Regions from separate parts of the Homo sapiens genome. Here region 2 is linked to region 1. Evidence: promoter capture Hi-C in human tissues and cell types (Jung and others, 2019). All regions are on one chromosome and are shown on one strand. Each heading gives the region's core, a stretch centred on a gene start or on the middle of the fragment in contact. The rest is flanking DNA. Distances are from core to core; before and after follow the strand shown. Region 1 holds the start of PHKG2 (phosphorylase kinase catalytic subunit gamma 2). Region 2 overlaps FBXL19 (F-box and leucine rich repeat protein 19).

Region 1 (3,340 bases), core at 243-2,742:
TGGCCATTTCTCCTGAAAAGACTTAGTTCCTTTTATTGGGTACTGTTATTGAGAAATCAGCATCTAGACACTAGGCGTTCTACTGGGAAGTTACTGCTTAGGGCATTCTGAAAGCAGAGGTAAGAGCCAGTAAATAGTTAATGTTATCTACTTTACATCTTTTAAAAATCTTTTTAAAAATTCCAGTCAATCATAGGGTTCTTTCTCCACTTTCCCCATTCCAGATTCCAGATTCCAGATTCCCACAGTTAAGAACCTTGGCTTCCAGTCACATCAATATATTGATTACTCAGCTTCAGAATTATTATCCTGTTATATTACCAAACAACAAATCTAAGTAAAGTTCAAGATTTTTTGCAATTTTGCCTTTAGATTGATGGTATAGAGTCATAGTACTCTATAAAAAGTTACCTGAATTCATTTTTCTTCCCTCATAATTGTAATCCCAAAGTGTCATTTCTAAGATAGCTGTAGGGAGATAAGTTAATTCTTTTCCTCTTTGGCTGGAACATAACCTCCACAGGGTAGGGGTGTGTGTGTTGTTTCATTGCTCTCAGTCTAGTTCCTAGGTCTTAGACGGTCATAAAAATTTGTTAGTGAATGCCAGGTTTGAGCTATGCACTGAGTCACTCCTGGCAGAATCTAACAACCTGGTGGGTTTAGAACAGAGTGTGATACAAGGCTTTTGGGAGAGGGTGGAAGATTGAGAAAGTGTGTAAATCCCAGATAGTAAACGCTAGGGCTTTGGATGTATTTAGGAGGAGTTGAAGCGGACACAGAAAAGGCTTCCTCTGGCATTTTAAGTCCGAACTAAGAGGCCAAGCTGGAGTCCAAGCTGCGTGTGTCCAAATGTTTTAAGGGCTGGAGTGTACTCAGGACAGGCGCTTTGGGCCAGGCTGCTAATATTGAAAAGAGCTTGCTGGGCGTTGTGGCTCAAGCCTGTAATCCCAGCATTTTGGGAGGCTGAGGCGGGAGGATCGCTTGAGCCCCGAAGTTCAAGGCTGCAGTGAGCTATGATCGCGCCACTACACTGCAGCCTCAGCGTGGGCTACAGAGCGAGACCCTGTCTGAAAAAAGAGAAAATGCTGAATTCAGTTAGGGATGCTTGGAGGAGACCGAGGGAACCCTGCTCAAGTCTGGGAACTAGAGGCGCGGGAAGGTCCTGCTTCCCCGCCACCCAGAGATCACGTTTCCCAGTAAACCCAACTTCCGGGTCCCATTCCAGGCCTCCAAGCCCACGTGACAACAAGCTCCGCCCTCTGCTGTCCCGCAGATGCCACTCGGTGATTGGCCGCGTCTGAAGCCGCGCCCCGGCGTCGCGTTGCAGCCTTAGGTCCAGCCGAGCGCCGACTCACGCCCCAGCCCCAATTGGGCGGCCGGTTTCCAATTGGAAGGGCTTCTGAGCCTCAGTCTTCGGGCGGCGCTGACCATTGGCGGGCAGGATGGAGGCGGAGCCTTGGGTTGTCGCCCGCCGCCGGGGGTTAAGGTGAGCGACTGCAGGCAAACCCGGCGACAGCGCAGCTCGCGTCGACCCTGGCTCCTCTGCCTGCCCCCTCAGGTGAGCCTGCGCTAGACCCCCGTCCCCTTCCTGCGCCCGCCCGAATGCGCCTGCGCGGCAACAGCCGCCTGCCCTTGCGCCCCTTCCCCCTGCCTCCTGGGCACATCTCCCCACTCCCCTCCCTGCCCTGCCATCCTCCCGCCCCCAGGCTCTTCTGCGGGGTCTCCCCAGTCCGGGTCCTTCCCCCACCCCCCCCCACCCCCCAGGACCCTGGCGCCCCAGCTGCAAGGGCTGCGCCCCCGGGAGCCGCCATGCGGGTCGTCTCAGAGCCTGTGGGCCTCCCTGCCCTCACTGCCCTCCTCCTCCGCGCAGGCCCCCGCCTCCTTCAGGATGACGCTGGACGTGGGGCCGGAGGATGAGCTGCCCGACTGGGCCGCCGCCAAAGAGTTTTACCAGAAGTACGACCCTAAGGACGTCATCGGCAGGTAAGGCCGCGGCCAGGGAAACGGAGGTCCAAAGAGGTCGAGCCCCAGCATTCCCGCTTCCGTTTGAAGGCTGGAGAGTTCGCGGGTGGTGGTGGTGGTGGTGGTGGTGGTGGTGGTGGTGGTGGTGGTGGTGGTGGTGGTGGTGGTGGTGGTGGTGGTGGTGGTGGTGGTGGTGCTGCTGCTGCTGCTGCTGCTGGTGGTGCTGGTGCTGGTGGTGGTGGTGCTGGTGCTGGTGGTGGTGCTGGTGGTGGTGGTGCTGGTGGTGGTGCTGGTGGTGGTGCTGGTGGTGGTGTGTGTGTGTGTGTGTGTCTTTCGGTGGTGGTGGTGCTGGTGCTGGTGGTGCTGGTGGTGGTGGTGTGTGTGTCTGTGTGTGTGTGTGTGTCTTTCAAGTTCAGGTTTTCTCAGGAGAAGACTGGATAGTTGGTTTTGTTTGTTTGTTTGTTTGTTTTTGAGACGGAGTCTCGCTCTGTCGCCCAGGCCGGAATGCAGTGGCGCGATCTCGGCTCACTACAACCTCTGCCTCCTGGGTTCAAGTGATTCTCCTGCCTCAGCCTCCCGAGTAGCTGGGATTACAGGCGCGCGCCACCACGCCGGCTAATTTATATTTTTAGTAGAGGCGGGCGTTTCACCATATTGGCCACGCTGGTCTTGAACTCCTGATCTCGTGATCTGCCCGCCTCAGCCTCCCAAAGTGCTGGGATTACAGGCGTGAGCCACCGCGCCTGGTTGACTGAATAGTTCTAAATGGGAAGAATCAGTGATCAGTGGAGAACACCTAGTGACTAGACTCTTACCTTGGGTCAACCCCATTTTTTCACGGATTCATTCATTTATGCCTTCAACACAAAGCTCAACACGGGGAGGGCAGAAAAGATGCGTATGCCCTGGAGGTACTCCACCCGAAGTGACTGAAATTGGCACGTGAACGTTAAAAAGGCATCAGGCTAGATAGGTAGAGGTCTGTATCAAGTGCTATGGGATTCCAGAAAAGCACACCTTCTCAGGAGGAGTCACCTTTGGGCTGGGTCTTGAGGTATGAGTAGGAGTTCAGGGGGGGGTCTTTAAAATCGCAAAAATGTATGCGTGTGGTAGATGTCTCCAGCTTTCATCAGATTCTCAAAGAGGCTCATTAAAGCTGGGTCATAATTAAAACATGGCCTCAAACTCAGATGCCCTTAGTGGTTGCGCAGGAAATTGAAACTGTGAAGTGGCCAAGAGTAAGAGAGTAGGAAGTGTTGTGGAAGGTGGAGGGTTTTGCCCCACCTATGATGTATGAATTCAGATTTGTGTAAAAAAATAAAAAAAAAATTGCACCGGCCAAAACGTAACACATCTGAGGGCTGTGTTTGGCCTGTGG
Region 2 (3,340 bases), core at 317-2,816, 190 kb after region 1:
CAGCCTGGCCAACATGGAGAAACCCTATCTCTACTAAAAATACAAAAAATTAGCCGGGCGTGGTGGCGCATGCCTGTAATCCCAGCTACTCTGGAGGCTGAGGCGGGAGAATCGCTTGAACTTGGGAGATGGTGGTTTCAGTGAGCCAAGATCACACCATTGCACTCCAGCCTGGGCAACAAGAGCGAAACTCTGTCTCAAAAAAAAAAAAAAAGTCAGGTGTGGTGGCATGTGCCTGTAGTCCCAGCTACTCAGGAGGCTGAGGTAGGAGGATGGCTTGAGCCCAGGAGTTTAAGGTTGCAGTGAGCTGTGATCGCAGTACTGCACCCCAGCCTGGGTGACTAAGCAAGACACTGTCTCAAGAAAAAAAAAAAAAAGCTTCCTGGGCCTGCTGCTTCTGACACAGTCTATTGAGTCTCAGAGGCATTTCTGGACATGCCTTTGAGAACTACTGAACTCAGAGAAGAGAGTTCTCAAACTGAGTCCAAAGGAACTTCAGTGTACTACAAAATGTTACTAGATTACCTTGGGAGAGGTGGGGAAGGATTCCTGGGGAAGTACGTTTGAGAGGCCCTTCTCCAGTTCACTGCATGTTTTTTGTTTGTTTGTTTGTTTGTTTGTTTTTGAGATGGAGTCTCTCACTGTTGCCCCAGCTGGTGTGCAGTGGTGCGATCTCGGCTCGCTGCAATCTCCGCCTCCCGGGTTCAAGTAATTCTCCTGCCTCAGCCTCCCGAGTAGCTAGGATTACAGGCGCCCGCCACCATGCCCAGCTAATTTTTTGTACTTTTAGTAGAGACAGGGTTTCACTAGTAGAACAGCCAGGCTGTTCTCGAATTCCTGACCTCATGATCCACCCACCTCGGCCTCCCAAAGTGCTGGGATTACAGGTGTGAGCCACTGCACCCAGCCCACTGCATGTTAGATAGTCTGTTGAGGCCTGTGGAGTGCTCGGGTTAGGAAACCTGTTTAATGTTGCTTAGGACTCGTTCATCTTTGTAGCTTCAATACTTGGGACCTATAACGCTTTCTATAATCAGAGTGAATAAATGAAATGCTGTAGATGAGGAGGTGGGGGAGAGTGGTCAGTGGAAGCTTTAAGTAGTTACTAGCTTGATTCATTCATTACAAATGGGCAGCTGGGTGCAGTAGCTCATGCCTGTAATCCCAGTGTTTTGGGAGGCCAAGGCAGGAGGATCGCTTGAGGCCAGGAGATCAAGACCAGCCTAGGCAACATAGTGAGACCCTGTCTCTACAAAAAAATTGTTTAAAAATTAGCCAGGCGTGGTGACATGTGCCTGTGGTCCCAGCTACTCAGGAGGCTGAGGTGGGAGGATTGCTTGAGCCCAGTAGGTTGAGGCTGCGGTGAGCCTGAGTCCAGCCTGGGTTACAGAGTGAGACCCTGTCTCAAAAAAAATTTTTTTTCAAAAAGTGGAAAACGCAAATCTGCCCTTGTGGAATTTACATTGTAGTTGGAGGAACACAGTAATGTAATAGGGAAGATATTAGGGCTGTAAGTCCAGCTGCGGGCAGCTGGCTGTCAAGATGGGACAGGTGTGGATCAGAAGCAGAGATGAGTAAAGGAGGCAAGGACCCATGAGCACCAGAACTCAGTCAGGAATCAAGAAGCCCAAGGGTGGCTGGAGACGACTGGATAACACCAGTCCCCTTGGCATGACATCAGGCAGCATGCGTGGCATTTGTGTATGTGTTGGGCAGCACACTTTCTATGCTGGGAGGCCCACAGCTGGGATGAGCCCATGTGACCTGACAGCTGCCCTGTGGGCAGGCAGAGTGGGGGGGCTATTGCCTTCAATCATAAACGAGGCTTCTGAGGCTCAGGGAGAGGAACAGACTTGCCCAGGGTCTCATTTCCAGTTAGTGATGGAGTTGGGTTCCAATCCCAGTGCTCTTGGCTGAGGTCAGGTGCTTCTTGCTACCCTGTTGTCTGTGTGGCCAGAAGAGAGCTGGGGTGCACCCTTGGAGCTGGGGAGCCTGGGAACTGTGGGCTGCTGAGAGCTGAGGGCTGAGGTCTCTGTCTCCCCCCTATGGCCGCCAGGTGCTATGACAAGCGTCTGTGGCCTCGAATGGACCTGAGCCGGCGGAAGTCACTGACCCCGCCCATGCTCAGTGGTGTGGTTCGCCGCCAGCCCCGTGCCCTGGACCTCAGCTGGACAGGTGTCTCCAAGAAGCAGCTCATGTGGCTTCTGAACCGACTACAAGGTAGGGTGTGTGGTACGGAGGACAGGGTGGGGACAGGGACAGGCCTGGGATGGAGTCCTCACAGCACCTGCTTCCTGACTGCCCCCTCTCCGCAGGCCTGCAGGAGCTGGTGCTCTCTGGCTGCTCCTGGCTCTCTGTCTCTGCCCTGGGCTCAGCCCCACTGCCAGCCCTGCGGCTCCTGGACCTCCGCTGGATCGAGGATGTTAAAGACTCCCAGCTCCGGGAGTTGCTGCTGCCTCCACCAGACACCAAACCAGGTGCAACCTCTGTTTGCTTTTCTGGAGAATGGGCTGGGCAAGGGTAGGGTAGGAGGCCTCTCAGGTCTCTTCTGACTCATGCTGGATGGTAAAGTATTTGAAGAAAGGAAAGAATACATGAGTTTGAATAGGAAGGCCCTGGTTGGGCATTATTCATTCATTCACCCACCTGCTGTGTACTTTGAACTGAGTCTTGAAAGGAACAGGGTTTTCCCAGGGAGTGTGAGACTCAGCAGTTTGGTGGGGCAGGAGGCCCATATTGGCAGAGGGGGATGCTGGGAGCAGAGGCCATCTCTCTTCATCTACTTAAATCTCATCATCCTTTAGGCCTGGGTATAAATGCCACTTCCTCCAAGAAGCTCTCCCTGATCCCACCCCACATTGAGCTCAGAGTCCCTCTCAGCTTTGAGAGCAGCCCGCCAGCATAATACTGGGCAATTGTGGAGTGCCTTGATGCACATCTGTGCCCTCCTGCCAGGGTCTCCAGCTCCCTGAGGGCAAGCGCTGGCTGGTCCCCCAGCACGTTCTCAGTGGCTGCTCCATAGATAGCTGTTGAATGAATAACTTGAATGAGCAATCAGGATGGGAGAGGTCTAGTTTGAGGAAAGATTTTCAAAAGGAGATTTGCAGTCCCCTGAAATAAGATAATCCTTTTGTTTGTTTTTGTTTTTTGAGACCATCTGGCTCTGTCACCCAGACTGGAGTGCAGTGGCAAGATCTCGGCTTACTGCAACTTATGCCTCCTGGGTTCAAGTGATCCTCCCCACCTCAGCCTCCTGAGTAGCTGGGCCTACAGGCGTGTGCCACCACGCCTGGCTAATTTTTTTGTAATTTTTTTTTTTTTTTTTTTTTTTTTGAGGTGA

Evidence for each region. The method cuts DNA at HindIII sites, captures the fragments that hold promoters and counts their contacts. A contact is called where the count stands out against the background at its distance.
Region 2: a fragment that was not itself captured here is called in contact with the fragment with the promoter of PHKG2 in region 1 in 2 of the 25 tissues and cell types used here (dorsolateral prefrontal cortex and spleen).

What each region holds. Positions count from the first base shown.
Region 1 is chr16:30,746,933-30,750,272 of GRCh38, forward strand. PHKG2 (phosphorylase kinase catalytic subunit gamma 2) reads left to right here and starts at 1,493. Exons shown (of 10, transcript NM_000294.3): 1 at 1,493-1,558; 2 at 1,871-1,983. The coding sequence starts at 1,889. RefSeq lists silencers at 1,240-1,539, 1,580-1,719. The HindIII fragment of the contact is 8,703 bases long and covers 1-3,340 here.
Region 2 is chr16:30,940,060-30,943,399 of GRCh38, forward strand. FBXL19 (F-box and leucine rich repeat protein 19) reads left to right here. Exons shown (of 11, transcript NM_001382779.1): 8 at 2,057-2,220; 9 at 2,316-2,477. Among named protein-coding and RNA genes, the nearest start is that of ORAI3, 7.3 kb to the right of the region's middle. RefSeq lists a silencer at 1,951-2,080 and an enhancer at 2,505-3,340. The HindIII fragment of the contact is 5,049 bases long and covers 1-3,340 here.